2 separate regions of the Homo sapiens genome follow, and region 1 is linked to region 2. The links are contacts of gene promoters, found by promoter capture Hi-C in blood cells and fetal thymus (Javierre and others, 2016). All regions are on one chromosome and are shown on one strand. Each heading gives the region's core, a stretch centred on a gene start or on the middle of the fragment in contact. The rest is flanking DNA. Distances are from core to core; before and after follow the strand shown.

Region 1 (6,817 bases), core at 807-3,306, 330 kb before region 2:
CTGGCGATATCACTTTAACTTTCTGAACCTCAGAGTCTTCACCTATAAGACGGGGAAAATAATACCACCCTTTCAAGATTGTTGAGATAAATAAGTGATATAAAACATGTAAAGCTTAGTTCTGGCCACAGTGTAGCTACTCAATAAATGATAATACTACCTTCTGGGTCTTATTTTTTTCTTCTCAAAGGAGGTGACTGTAGGGAGGGTTGGATACCAAGGGCTCACCCAACTCACTTCTGAGAGAAAGATAGAGCCTGCTGCACACAAAACTTACGGCACAACCAGGCTTCGGCACAGCCTCCACGTGACTCAGCTTCACCCATGCCAGGCTTCCTGGAGTTTGAAAAGACAGCAATTGGCATGGGTGTAATGTGTGTGTTCCGGTGCAGCCTGAACCAGCTGTTTCCAGCTTTCATATCCTCAAATCCAACTTCTCCTGTATCATCAGTCTCTTACTGCCCATGACCATAGAGCAAGCTTCTTTTTGCTTCCTTTTACTTTCTTTTGCTGTGTGGTTCAGAGAACTATATGCTGTTCTACAGTTATTTATTTTTAAAATGAAGGTAAAAAAAATAAGCATATAACAGGAGGGAACTCCTCAGAAAGAAATAAAAGCTAGAAAAGGTTTTAAAATTCCTTTTTTTTATTTTAAATAGCACGTTCTTTTAAATTTGTTCATCTCTGGAATGAATCAGGCATTAGTTATCAGGAGGCAAGAAGTACATTGGATGAGGTCTCTAAATCTCTTCAGGTGTAGGGACCTGTGAATTGCTGGAGTCATGACCACTGTCACAATCATCACTGACTGTTAGCATACACATGTGGTAAAAACAGATTACACTCTAATTCCAGGCTGTCACTCTCTCTTACTCATTACCTAGTTGGATTGTTGTCCTTATCACCACTTGCCACGTATCCAGAATTCAAAATAATGTGAAACAGGCAGAGGCCTGGACCAGGTGAGATTTAGTGGGTCACTTCTTCTCACTCTCAACATGAGGGACTTGGTCTTTCTCCTAGATCCATGCTAGCCCTGAAATGTATGTTTCGGTAAATCCAAACAAGTTAGGAAGATAAACACCTGCCAAAAATAATCAAAATATAGTCTAAAATAAACTAAACCTCAGAGAACTTGAGAACGGAAAGGAAACTTTTAGGTTCTGTAATTCAACCTCCCACCTAAAGAGGAATTATCTCTATAGTTGGAGATACATATGTTTCTTCCTTTCTTTCTATCTACCTATCTATATCTATGGTCAGAAATAAACACACACACATATATATATATGTATATATATATACATGTAGGACCAGGAAGACGGGAGGTTCGGTTTGGGGCATACTGAGTTTGAGGTTGCTGTGGGACTTCTAAGCTGACATGGCCTCTGGCATGTCAACTTAGATAGCTATATCTATATCTATATCTATATCTATATCTATATCTATATCTACCTCCAACTATGTATATATAGAGAGAGATATGGTCAGAAATATAGTTGGATAGATGGATGGAGGCTTGATGGATGGATGGATGGATGAGTGGATAGATGGAAGAAGATAAGAAAGGAGGGAAGAGGAGGGGAGGGAAGAGAGATTGAGAACATACAGTGGCCAAGAGCATAGGCTCAGGAGCCAGGCTGCCAGGGTCTCTGCACTTCAGTTTCCTTTTCGGTGATTACCTTTTGCATCTTTTAACTTTCTTTGTTGTGTGGTTCAGGGAACTTTATGCCGCCCTACAGTTATTGTTTATCTTAAAAATGGAGAGAAAACGAACTTAGATTATAACAGGATGGAACCTCGTAAAGTAAGGCAATAATAATACTTACCCCTTGCAGTTTTTATGAAAATAGAATCAAATGAGATACTACATATAAAAAAAACCATAGCACACTGCTGAATAAATGGTGTCTATTCATATTATTATCATATAGACGTGTAATTCAGATGCCAACTGGGACCCCCATCAGGACTGGTTAATCTTGGCCTGCACCTAGATTCCTCAGAACTGAAACAGTCAAAGCCCTCCTCCAGTTTTAAGAGCCTCCTACAGTTCTGTCCTATCTGCATCTGTGTGTGCTGCTTCGGAGCCTCCCCACACCTGCCTCCTTCCCAATCCACACTCTGCCATCCCTAAGCCACTGTCTCTGTCTCCGCTCACTATTGGTCTAGACCCAAAGCCCAGGCCTTTCACTGATTCCCATGGGAAATCAGGTTTCGTTAAGCATTTTGTTATTTTCTGAGTTTTTTACTGAAGGTCAGTGTGGGGGATGCTGGGGGACCTATCACAACCACATGGCCTCACATCACCTCCCCTTCCACCCTTTCTTTTTCTTTTCCAACTTATAGCACAACCAGCAAATCCTTCTCACCTCCACCCGACACTTGAGGGCTCTTAGGATCTAAGCGTCAACCCCCAGAGACTTTTCAAAAAATTCCTCTTACGTGAAGAGAGTTGCTGCGCCAAACTCTGTACATCTCTACAGATGGAAAGATCATTCTGGTGGCTGGGTTGGGAGGGGACTGAGACAGGCTGGGATGGGTGTGAAGGGAACAGTTAGAAAGCTACTGCTGTAGTCTGGGAGGGAGGCAGTGTGGCACTGTGCAGCTGTGGTGGTGGCAGAAAGAAGAAAAGAAAGAAGGTTTGAAGATGTTCATCACTGACATGATTTGGTGGACCTATTACTGAGGGTGAGGAAGAGGGTGAGGTCATGAGTCATGTTTTGGTTTCATTCCTTCGTGATTGGATGGATACTAATACCACTCACTGAGACATAGACCATGGCGAGAGGCTCAGATCTGGGGGTCCCCTGCATGGGTCTGTGTTTGGACATGTTGAGAGTACAGCGCTCTCTACCTCCTGGGCCTTCATGCCTGAAAGTAGGACTGAGGCTACAGCACAAGTTGACTTGCAACATCAACACCTCCTCCAGCTCACACCAACCCTGCCACACTCTGCTTTAGTGGGTAGGCAGGACTCTGTGAAGGCCTCCTTTGGATTAGTTCCTGGCTCTGTTCAGTTGCTTGGATCTGAGGAAATATTTGTCATCTCCTCTTTGAGTGACTCTCCTGCCCCCGTCCTTTAGGCAGGGGCTCCTGAAGGATCTGTCTTCATGTTCTCTTATTAAAAGCATCAAGCTGGTCCCAGCTCTGAGACTCTACCTTGGCTGTTCCTTCTGCTGGAGTTCTCCGCTCCTCATCTTTACATAGCTAGTTCCTTCTCATCCTTTAAGTCTCAGATTAAATTTCAGATTTTCTGAGAAGCCTTTGCTGAATGCTCAAGACGTACATGAGATATATATTTATGGACGCATCAGGAAATCTTTTCAGTGCTGTGCAGATGGTCGTGACTCTTCTTATTCCTCCAACCTAGGGACGGAGACCCAGTGCAGCTCTGCATGGAGCTGCTGGCATGGTGCCTACTGTCTGCACAGTGAAAGGAGGCAGGCACAGGTTTGGGCTTTGGCTGCCCAGCAGCATGGGGACCACAGCTCTTGTCCAGGAACTGGGCATCCCAAGTAGGATCTTATCAAGACTGAAGATCCCCTCTTTTCATGTCCACTTCAACTAAACATTTATTGAGTCCCTCTTAGAACCAAGAATTCTCATGTTCAGTATCTCAAGTAAGCTTCATAACAGCCCCACACATTTCTATCTAACTCTCTGTCAATTAGGGAACCAAGACACAGACAGTTTACTCAACTTGCCCAAGTTCATAAGTTAGTAATTATTGGAGTCATGGATTTGAACTTGGGTTGACCTCTCAGCAAGGCCAGTGCTGTTTTGCTATTACAAATCTGCCATATAAAAACAATTTCACTGACACCGCAAACAACAAAGATAGAATTACCCATGTTTTACACATGAGGAACATGAGTTTCAGAGAGCTCATGGGGTTACAATAAGTAAAACTAGAGACAGAATCACGGCCCCTGGTTCAGCACACTCATTCGTTTCTCAGTTTCCTGAGTTCAAACCCTCTATCCAATATTAGGAAAACAAAGATAAATAAGACATACCCAGAAAATGAAGGAGCTCATAGTCTAGCAAGAGAGACAATAAGGTATGATTATATTCAAGATATAAAGATATAGAACCATAGAGGGTAGGGATCTAAGAGAGGAGGGGAAAGACCTGGAAAGAAGAGGTGTTCCAGACAGAGGAAACAGCATGTGCCAAGAAAGCACAAAGAAGTGTGGTGTATCTGGAGAACTGTCTGTGATGTACAGTGCCCAGGGATGAGGCCAGAGGAGCAGGCAACAGGAGACTGTGGAGGGCCTATGTGCCATGCAAAACAGTCTGATCTCTATCCTGTGAGCAGTGGAGAGTCAATGGGAGATTTAAAGCAGGGAAGTAGCAAGGTCAAAATTGCATTTTGTAAAGGCTCTGGCCAAGGCTGTGGATAATGGAACATACTGCAATGATACTACAACAAAGAAACGAGCTAGAAGCCTTTATCAGTCAAAGATGCTTTTGGCTGCAAGTAACAGAACCCTCTGTGGCTTAAATAAAAGGGGATTTATCTTTTTCTCCCATACTGGGAAATATGAGGGTAGGTGGCTATGGGCATTGTTCAGGGCAGAGGCACAGGAATTCTCTTTGCCTTCCTTCTGCAATTGCGAGATGGTGGCTCCAGTCATATTGCTGGCATTCAAAGGATTAAGAAGGGAAAAAATACTGGGAGCATCCATATCTGTCTTTTTAAATAAGAAAGCAAAGTCTTTCCCAGAAACTTCTGAACAGACTTTCTTTTCTGTCTCATTGACCAGAATTACGTCACAAGCCATCTCTGGCTGTAAGAAAGCCTGTCTTGTCCTCTCTAATAGAGGCCAGCCTGGGAGAAGGGGGTGGATGTGAGTCTTCTGCTAGCTAATCCACAATGCTCCCAACAGTCCAAGTGAGAATTTAAATAAATCAGTGAAGATGGAGGTGGTGCACAATTCTAAATGTGCCCACAAACCAACCAGCAGCTTAGTGACTGACTGGATGTAAAGACTAAAGGAGAAAGAGGAGCTCAAAATGATGCCCACATTGCTGGTCTGAACAAGTAGACAGAATTCATGAATGTGCTATAGGGGTAGGACCAGGAAGAAGGGAGGTTTGGTTTGGGGCATACGGAGTTTGAGGTTGCTGTGGGACTTCTAAGTTGACATGGCCCCTGGCAGGTAGACTGCGGGTCTGCAGTTCATGGGGGAGAAGCGATAACAGAGCCACTAAATGTAGGTGACAGTCGATCATGAGCATGGATAAGGCTGTCTAGGGAGGATGGGTAGAATAAGAAGAACAGAGCTCATGGATGGATCTCTGGGGCACACTGACATCTAAAGGGAGGTAAATAAAGAGAAGTCCAATGAGAAAACTGCACCCCCAATTTCTACTTGATCACTGTTCTGTCTAGTATCTCTCAAATTAAAAAATTAACAACAACAACAACAAAATTAAAACCTTCCTTAACCCCACATCTTCTAGAGCAGAGTTGTCCATCAGAAATTTCAGCAATGATAAAACTATGCTCTATCTGCTCTGCCCAATTGAGTAGCTGCTCCTCACATGTGGCCCTCAAGCACTTGATATTTGGCTAGTGTGACAAAGAACTAAATGTCTAATTTTATTTAATTTTAATTAACATAAACTTACATTTTTTAATTAGGCAAGTGGCTCTGGTGTTGGACAGCACTGCTCTAGCACCCTAGCCATCTCTCTGCTCCCCTCTGGAAATGTCCCTTGAAATAAACACAACCTCTCCTTTCTCACCTGAACCTCACTCCTCCTCCCGCTTCAACCAAGCATCTTTCCCCTCCATGCCCCCAAGACCATGTTGTCAGAGTTACCAATGACATCCATGTTGGCAGATCCAGTAGTCTGCTTTACTCGCATTTACTTTATTTCTCTGCACATTTGACACAATTGACGACTCCCTTCATTTTGAAACACTGACTCCTGGGTACTGTGTACTCCTCCTCAGGATCTTTTGCCTTCTCATCCTCTTGGGCCTCAGGGCTCTCTCCTGTGCCCCCTTCTCAGATCTGTCTTCATGTTCTCCTTTAAATGCATCAAGCTTGTCCCAGCTCTGGGACTCTACCTTGGCTGTTCCTTCTCCTGGAGTTCTTTTCTCCTCGTCTTTACGTAGCTAGTTCCTTCTCATCCTTTACGTTTTAGATTAAATTTCAGATTTTCTGAGAGGCCTTTGCTGAATGATCAAGCTAAAGATGACACTTGATCTTTCCTATGTGGTACTATGAAGTACCACTCTTGAATTCTCTGCATAGTACTCACCACTATTCAGAGAGAGATTTTGAAAGCTAAGGGGAAAAAAGAGTTTCTAGAAAAGAACCTGGTCAACAATACCAAGTACTCCAGACACATCAAATATGATGGCACTAAAACATTTCTATTGGATTTTGAAATTAAGAGGTCGCTAATAATTTCAGCAAAAACAATTTCAGAGAAGAACCGAGTGTGAAAACCAACTTTAGCCAGTTGTAGAGTCAACGGAAGTGAAGACAGTGAGTGTAGTTAAATCTACTTCCCTCCCTTTATAGCTTAGCTAGGGAAGAAAGCTAGGGAAATTGAATAAAAAAATGTGATCAAGAGTACAGAAGGGTTTTTTTTTATTGTTTGCTTTAAGATGGAATAGATTCGAGCATGACTATATGTTAGAAGGAAAGCGTCCATAGAGAAAAAATTAAATACATAGGAAAAGTGATCATATAGAGGAAGGCTCCTAAGGAAAAGTAGAGGAGACGAGATCTAATGAACAAGAATAAATTCTTCTGGGGAAAGAGGGTCAGCAACTTTTCCAGGTCAGGGGAGGAGA
Region 2 (7,021 bases), core at 1,332-3,831:
GAGTCAACTTAAAAGATCTGGGAGCAGGCTGCCTGTCAAAACAGACTGACTTCACTCTTCGCCCACTTCTAACCTGAGAGGGATAAACTATGAGTGTTATTTAACACGCTGCTGGATTTTTCCTTCCAAAACTATTCAAAGTAGAAAAATATGTAAACCTCTCTCTCGTTAGTTACAAGAGAAATCTGAATTGCCACTCAAAAGCATTTTATAGGATGATTTTGTGCGTGTGTCTATTAAACAGAATACAGAGCAGAAGTTGGGAGCTTTTGTTCTGAAGTCTTTACATAATATTCCAAATATCCAAGAGAATGAACAGCCAGTGTCCCCAAACTACTAATGGGTGAAGGCAGATGGTGTCTCAGAGGGGACAGCAAACACTCCTGTAAAGACCGTCTGTCACTTCCTCAATGATACAGGTTAACTGTGGTCAAACTGTATTCACCCAACTCCAGTCCCCAAGGTCAGAGCCATGCTCAATCCAAACAACTCCTCCTCCTCCTTTCCCTTCAGTTATGAGTAGGGAAAGAGAAGTCTAAGACACAAATGTTGAAGTGTTGAAGATACTTATCCCCTCTCCAACAGTCAACACTAAACAACAACCGAGATCCCAGAGCAATAACTTACAGTAGAAAGCAAAGCACTGTAACAGGGTTGAGTATGAGAGCAGCAGGAAAACAATTCTAGAGGCCTTAAAATCTAGAAATGGAACATGCTTGCCCCGTACAACCCCGAAGTACTGGTGTTTCTTTTAAAACATCTGATCGTATATTCCAATAGTTCCACCCATACCACATTTCTGAGTTTTGTACTTGACAACTGAAATACAGCTCGCTGTGGGGGCTGAAGGGGAAGAGAAAAATATAACACAGGAAGTATTTTTCTCCTCCTCCAATCATTGAGACACCCCAGGGGAAACAGACCTGAGGCGTCACCTTTAGAGATTGGTTTGACCTGAAACCCCTGTGAGAGGAAAACCTTGTTGGTGACCCTGCAAGACCGGCTCACACTTCACTGCGGACCCACCCATCTCATGAGACCTCCCAGTCCATTGTGTTTAACTTCTGAAGTCGATATTCTCACTTGAATCCTTATTCTCCCCACCACCACACCCCTTAAAGAAAGAAAAGGGATGGGCTCCCCCGGCTCAAGGATAATGTTTCCTCAGACTGCCCATCACGGCGCGAGTCCAGGACAGCAAGTGGCCCTCTCTAGGAGGCGGAATCAGCACGGGCCCGGCCGCGGGTTACAGACTCTGTTCACAATGATCAGCCGGGCCGCGGACACCGCCGGCCTCTCCCCGGAGCCGCCCCGCGCGGGCGTGGGAGGGGGCCAGCTGAGGGGGCCAGCTCCGGGATCCAAATAATCCCGCCCCCGCAGCCGGGGGACACCCAGGACCCTCCCGCCGCACACCTCCTGCCCGGCGCGCCCCAAGGCGGCCCGGCTGCCCTCGCGAGGCTCGGGGAAGTGAAATCACACATTCCGGCTCCCAAATAAGGAGCGAGGCTAAATAAACCTCTGCGATCCGACTTCTCCAAACCAACCGACCAACCGGCTCAATGAGTAATGGGCCTTTTGTGCCCGCAGAGAGAGAAAAAGGAGGGAGGAGAGGACGGGGAACCACCAACCCCAAAATCACTTCCTTGAGATGGAGTGAAATTAGCAGAAGTCCCGAAGCCAACCGTTCTGACTCGGCTGGATCCCGCTCAAACCCCAAAATGGCAGGGTCCCCTGAGTCCCCAGGAGCGGGTCCCAGGGCTCCCGCCCGGGAGCGGCCGGAAGCGGTCAGGGAGGCGAGGGCGCTGGGACCCGCCGCCCGCGCCGCACTCGGCACCGCCGGCCCGGCCGCCCCGCCCCGCCCCGCCGCGGCCACCCCTCCGCCCCGCGCCGCGACCCAGGCCGGGACGGGCACCCGACGCCGTGGAGCTCCAGGGCCCGGGACCGGCCCCGCCTCCCCTCCCCGGGCCCCAGACCTACTTTGAGGGCGAATTTCTCCTGGGTCCTCTTGTTGAAGATCTGCAAAACTTTGCCGTTGATGCCCAGCCCCAGGACCTGGCTGGTGACCTTGTAGTCATCGATGATGGCGTTCTTCTTGATCTGCAGGCCGGACTTGACGTGGAACTGCGGGAACTGCTGCGGGGGCGGCGGCGGCGGCTGCGCCGGGGGGTGCGGCAGGGCAGGGGTGGGGGGCTGCGGCGGCGGGGCCGGGGCGGGGAACGGCACCGGCGGGCTCTGGCCCTGGGAGTTGGACAGCATGGTGCCCGGGGACGCCGGGGCACAGGCGGGGGTGCCCGCGGCCGCCCCCTCCTCCGGCTCCGGGCCCCCTCCCCGCCGCCCCCCGACGGGCTGCGAAGTTCGCTCCGGGCTGGAGCCGGCTTCCCCGACCCGGCCCGGCTCCAGGCTCGGCGGGTCGCGGGGCTCCGTGGGTCCCACCGCGCGCCGCTGGCTCCCACCGGCCCGGCGCCCTCCCTCCCTCCCCCCGGGGGCCTGGCGCTCTGGGGACCGCGGGGCGGCGGGGGCCCGGCCGGGGGGAAGCGGCCGCGCGACAATGTACCCAGCCCCGGGCCGGCGGCCGCGTCACAGCCTCGTCTGCGTCCGGGGCCGGTCCTTAAAGGGGAGGGGCGGGGGGCGGGGCCTGGGGAGGCGTGGCGTGGGGGGAGGGGCGGGCCTTAAAGGGGAGGACGCGCGGTGCCGGGAGCTGGGAGGATCGCGGAGTAGGCTGGGGGCTGCTGCCTCGCGGACAGTGAGAGGGGACAGGGAGAGGGGACGAAGAAATGCTAGTTCTTAACCAAGGCTATGCAAAGGGAGAGGGGAGGCGTGTCAAAGGAGCTGCATAATTCAGATGGAAAATCCACTCCTCTCCAATTGTCTGGGCTTCTTAGCGGCAGCGAATTGGGAGAGGGGTGTATTTCCAAGGACAGGGATGGCTTGTAGGTATCCAGCTAGATGAGACCTCGTGGGGGTGGGGGGGAGCTGGAATCACAGGGGTCATTCATCCCAGGAAAAGGTGTGAGCCAAAGGCGGGCGTATTAAATATTTCCCTAACTTCAACATTTTCCTCTGAGGTTTTTTGCATCTCTTTTCTCATTAATTTATTGTTTTTCAGTAAAGACGTATTATTGTGTAACCAGGAGCACTTTAGTAATTATACCTTTGAACATGTTTTCCTGTAAATAAACTAAAAAGGATACAGGGTGGGAAGAGGATGGGTTGAGATTGGGGCCACCTGAATTCCCGCCATCCTTTGCCACGGATTGGCTGTGTGAGGCTGAGCAAGCCTTGCACCTCTCTCTCCGTGGGAAGAACAGCGAGACCTTTTCAAAGGTTGTGGGCAGAGTCAAAGGAGATAATGAAACTGAAGGGGAGGCCCTGGGGAATGGCTTCTGATTTCCGATGTGGAAAAATTAATCCGTAAGAAGTGGGTTAGCCCCGTGTATCTCAGGAAAAGCCCAGGGATCTAGCTGGACCCTGCATAGAAGCTGCCAGGAGGCCTCCACACACATTCTGATGGGGTTCGAGATGACCAAGTACATTCCTGCCGACCTCCTCCCACCTCTGACTGGCAGAACATTTGAGAAATGGCAAGCAACCCAGACAGGTGAACACAAAACCTCAGCTTAAGTCTTGGTAAGGCCAGTTAGAGAATGAGGCTTGACCTATGGCCACACATGCCCCCTAATAGGTCCCCCAAAACTCCAGAGAGAAGACAACACCCCCAGAAGTGGCCACTGGGGATAGAACTTAGGTAGGTAAGGGACAAGTGCAAATGTCTCTTCCCTCATTCACCTTTCCCAGAAGATGCTTGTGGAGGCAGGAATGAGGGGGAGGAGTGAGGGGTGGGAGTTACCCTCCCAACACTGTCCTTTCCTGGGGCAGGTAGGGCTCTGTGGACCAAGGAGAGACATGTTTCCCCCGACACAAACATATGCTCTTCTCAAGCAGCATCTGCTTAGCTCCATGTACAAGGTGCCGTGCTCAGCCCTGCAGCGGTGGATGGTGTTATCTGATGGGGAAGAAGACAGATAACAGTGGCACAGAGAGGATGGCAGACACCTTCCTAGGAGCCCGAAGCACAGGGATTCTCTTCTGTCTACAGCAGCCAGCAGCTTCCTCCCGAGTCTACAGGATAGATACGGTTAGACAGCTCCCCAGATGCCCCTGACTCTTCAAAGACAAAGACACTATCTAAGGCCACGGGGATAGGAAAACATCTTCACTCCACTACTTCTATAGCACTGCTATCACCTCCCCGAAGCACACACAGGAGATGCCCAAGGACAAGAGGAACGCAGGGGTGGGAAGGTGGAAGGCTCCAACTGCTCAGGCTCTGGTGGGGCTGCTCTGGAGTCTGAGTTGGTCTTTTTTTTCTTTGCAGAGTCACTGGAAGCTCCCTATGGCTTGGTGTTGAGGTATCACCTGCTTTTCTCCACAAAGCTAGAAAGAGAATAACTTCCTTCTGCCTTTTCAGAGGCAGCAAGGCACAGTGGTAAGATGACAGGATCTAGAGACAAATGAGCTGAAGCCAAGACTGTCCTCCAACTGGGTTACCTTGAGCAAGACATGTAACATCTCTCAGCATCTGAAAAAGAAAAGAAAAAAACAACAAAATCTACTTTCGGGGCTGAGAGAGAATAAAATGAAATAGTAATTATGAGAACACATCCTAAAGCATAAACTATACATTATCATGAAATATTAAATATCACCATTATTTAGACATTGCTGGCTTGCTCCTCTGCTCTGTGCTCATGGCCTACGGATCTATTCCTGATATCAAAGCTGCTTTCCTACCTAGCTGGAGCTCCAGGGAGATGGTGAGGCCCAATGATCTAGGAATAACAGGACAACTGAATTCCCACCTGAGAGTCCTCCCGGAGCTGCAAGAGCCAAATAGGCCTAGGGGGCACACAGGGACTCTGAGGGTACATACATAGTGGATAGAGATTATATGAACTGCACACACAGCACCAGAAAACACACACATATATGAACACAACACATGAGCACAATGTGCCATGTAACAGAATAAACGCCTAGTGGATGAATAATTGAGGAGTAAGATGTGCTAAATGCAGAAGCACTGGCCAAGAGATCCTGAGTCTTAAGTTCCATTCTGATACTGACTCGCTATGTAACCTCATGAGAGCCCCTTGCTCTCTCAGTTCCTTCCTTCTCATCTGCAAAATAGTGACAATAACATCTGCCTTGCCTACTTTGTAGGGCTTGTGCAAGGATAAAATAAAAACTTTCCTACAGGAAGCAGTCCAAAGTCCTATTTGTGTAACACCAGGCTCTTAGCCATCTGTAATGAACTACTTAATAAACAGTTTTTATGGATGTGTAAAAGCGCTTTAAAACTTGAAAGTCTATGCAAATAGAAAGTACTATTTTTATCTACTATTAACATGCAAACACATATGCCATGCAATATAGTACACACAAAGACAATTTAAGGACCTCAGGTACATAGAAATGGATTAATTATAATCCTTGATTCATGACACACTCTCGTCATTGGATCATTGATCCATGCAGCTCCACTTTTATTGTTAGTTAATAATTATTTTTAATAATGCAGTAAGCACCTGTGAATCCACTACCCAAAATAAAAACTAGAACTTCGACAATAATTTACATCTAACTAGATGATTCCTCCACACACACTCCCCCAACCCCTCCATTTTCATGGCCCAAGACCCCATCATCCTGAGTCCTATGTTCACCTTTCCCTTGCTTTCCTTTTTATATAGTTTTGTTTCATGAAGGCATGTTCAAAGGTATCATAAAAGATGAAACTCAAATCACCTTAAAAGGGAGGTGGCCAAGGGTGATGTTAGCAGCAAGACCAGGTTAAAATAAGAAAATGCCTTGTCACAGTTTCAAAGTATTCCTCACCTTCTCATGATGATGGTGATGATGATGTTGATGATGATGATGATGATGACGATGACAATGTTTTTTGAGTGCTTCCTGAGTGCCCAACACTGTGCTCAACCCTCTACCTGCATTGTCTCATTTAAATCTCATGATGATCCGTGGCTGAGATTGCTAGTTGGGTGGGCTAACACCTTTTTTTCCTCTCTTTGATAGTAAAGAGCACCCCATATTTAGCTAAGCACAAGACTGCCTGGAATAAAAATTACATTTCCCACTTGAGCAGCCTCCACTATAGCCGGTTACATTCATAAGATTAAGTTATAACCAATGACTTGTAAGTGGAAGTGGTTTATGGAAAGAAGTATGTCCTTCTTCTTCTCCTTCTCTTTTTTCTTTCCTGCTGACTGGAATAAAAATTTCACAGCTGTAGCCATCTTGGATGGTGAATTGGAGGTTACAGGTTGAGGAAGACAGAACAAAAGGACAGAAAGAGTCTGTATACTGGTGAACCTGGATCCATCATATCAGCAATGAGCCACCTACCCAGACTTTTATATGAAAGAACAATAAATGGCCTTCTTGTTGAAGTGACTGATGGTCTAGGTTTTCTATCATTCACAGCCAAACCTTATCCTACTCTTACACAGCCCTATGAGGTCTGTACTGTTATCCTCACTTATCTGTTGTATAAACAAGAAAACTGAGTCCCAGAGAAATTAAATAACTTTCTCAGAGTCATTCCACTAGCGAAGGACAGGACCCAAATCTTTCTGACCCAAAGTCCATGCTCATGGTCCTTACTATAGATCCTGAGCAGACATATACTCACATATCCTTCTTAATGTCAGAAATATGATATCTGCTATTTCTGGGCAGGAATTGCCTGAAGAGGTATGGGCTATTCTTTCCATTTTAGAGCAACATAAATTTTCCACACCTCAATTTCCTTCCATCTTGGCCTAATCTGTTACAGAATATAGGTCTATGTTAATTTGCATGACTGGGTTATATGATAGGATACATTGTGACAATCTTTTTCTTCAAGATTCCCCCACACAGCCTTCACACCATCATGGAGTAAAAGTTTCCTGTTTTACTATGACGTGGCATTATGAATGAGTGACAGAGGGTGGAAATTTATGGA

Evidence for each region. The method cuts DNA at HindIII sites, captures the fragments that hold promoters and counts their contacts. A CHiCAGO score of 5 or more calls a contact.
Region 1: a fragment that was not itself captured here is called in contact with the fragment with the promoter of MAPKAPK2 in region 2 in 8 of 17 cell types (M2 macrophages, activated CD4 T cells, total CD4 T cells and 5 more); the score reaches 6.6 in M2 macrophages.

The regions. Positions count from the first base shown.
Region 1 is chr1:207,011,865-207,018,681 of GRCh38, reverse strand. C1orf116 (chromosome 1 open reading frame 116) reads left to right here. Exons shown (of 4, transcript NM_023938.6): 4 at 1-160. Among named protein-coding and RNA genes, the nearest start is that of C1orf116, 17 kb to the left of the region's middle. The HindIII fragment of the contact is 3,148 bases long and covers 483-3,630 here.
Region 2 is chr1:206,680,465-206,687,485 of GRCh38, reverse strand. It overlaps MAPKAPK2 (MAPK activated protein kinase 2), which reads right to left and starts at 2,581. Exons shown (of 10, transcript NM_032960.4): 1 at 1,978-2,581. The coding sequence starts at 2,256. It overlaps LOC124904495 (a long non-coding RNA gene), which reads left to right and starts at 2,680. Exons shown (of 3, transcript XR_007066833.1): 1 at 2,680-3,745; 2 at 3,943-4,135; 3 at 4,376-5,346. It overlaps LOC124904496 (a long non-coding RNA gene), which reads right to left. Exons shown (of 3, transcript XR_007066834.1): 1 at 6,899-7,021; 2 at 5,896-6,311; 3 at 4,498-4,579. RefSeq lists silencers at 1,316-1,405, 1,816-1,905, 1,916-1,965, 2,426-2,605, 6,928-7,021. The HindIII fragment of the contact is 16,303 bases long and covers 1-7,021 here.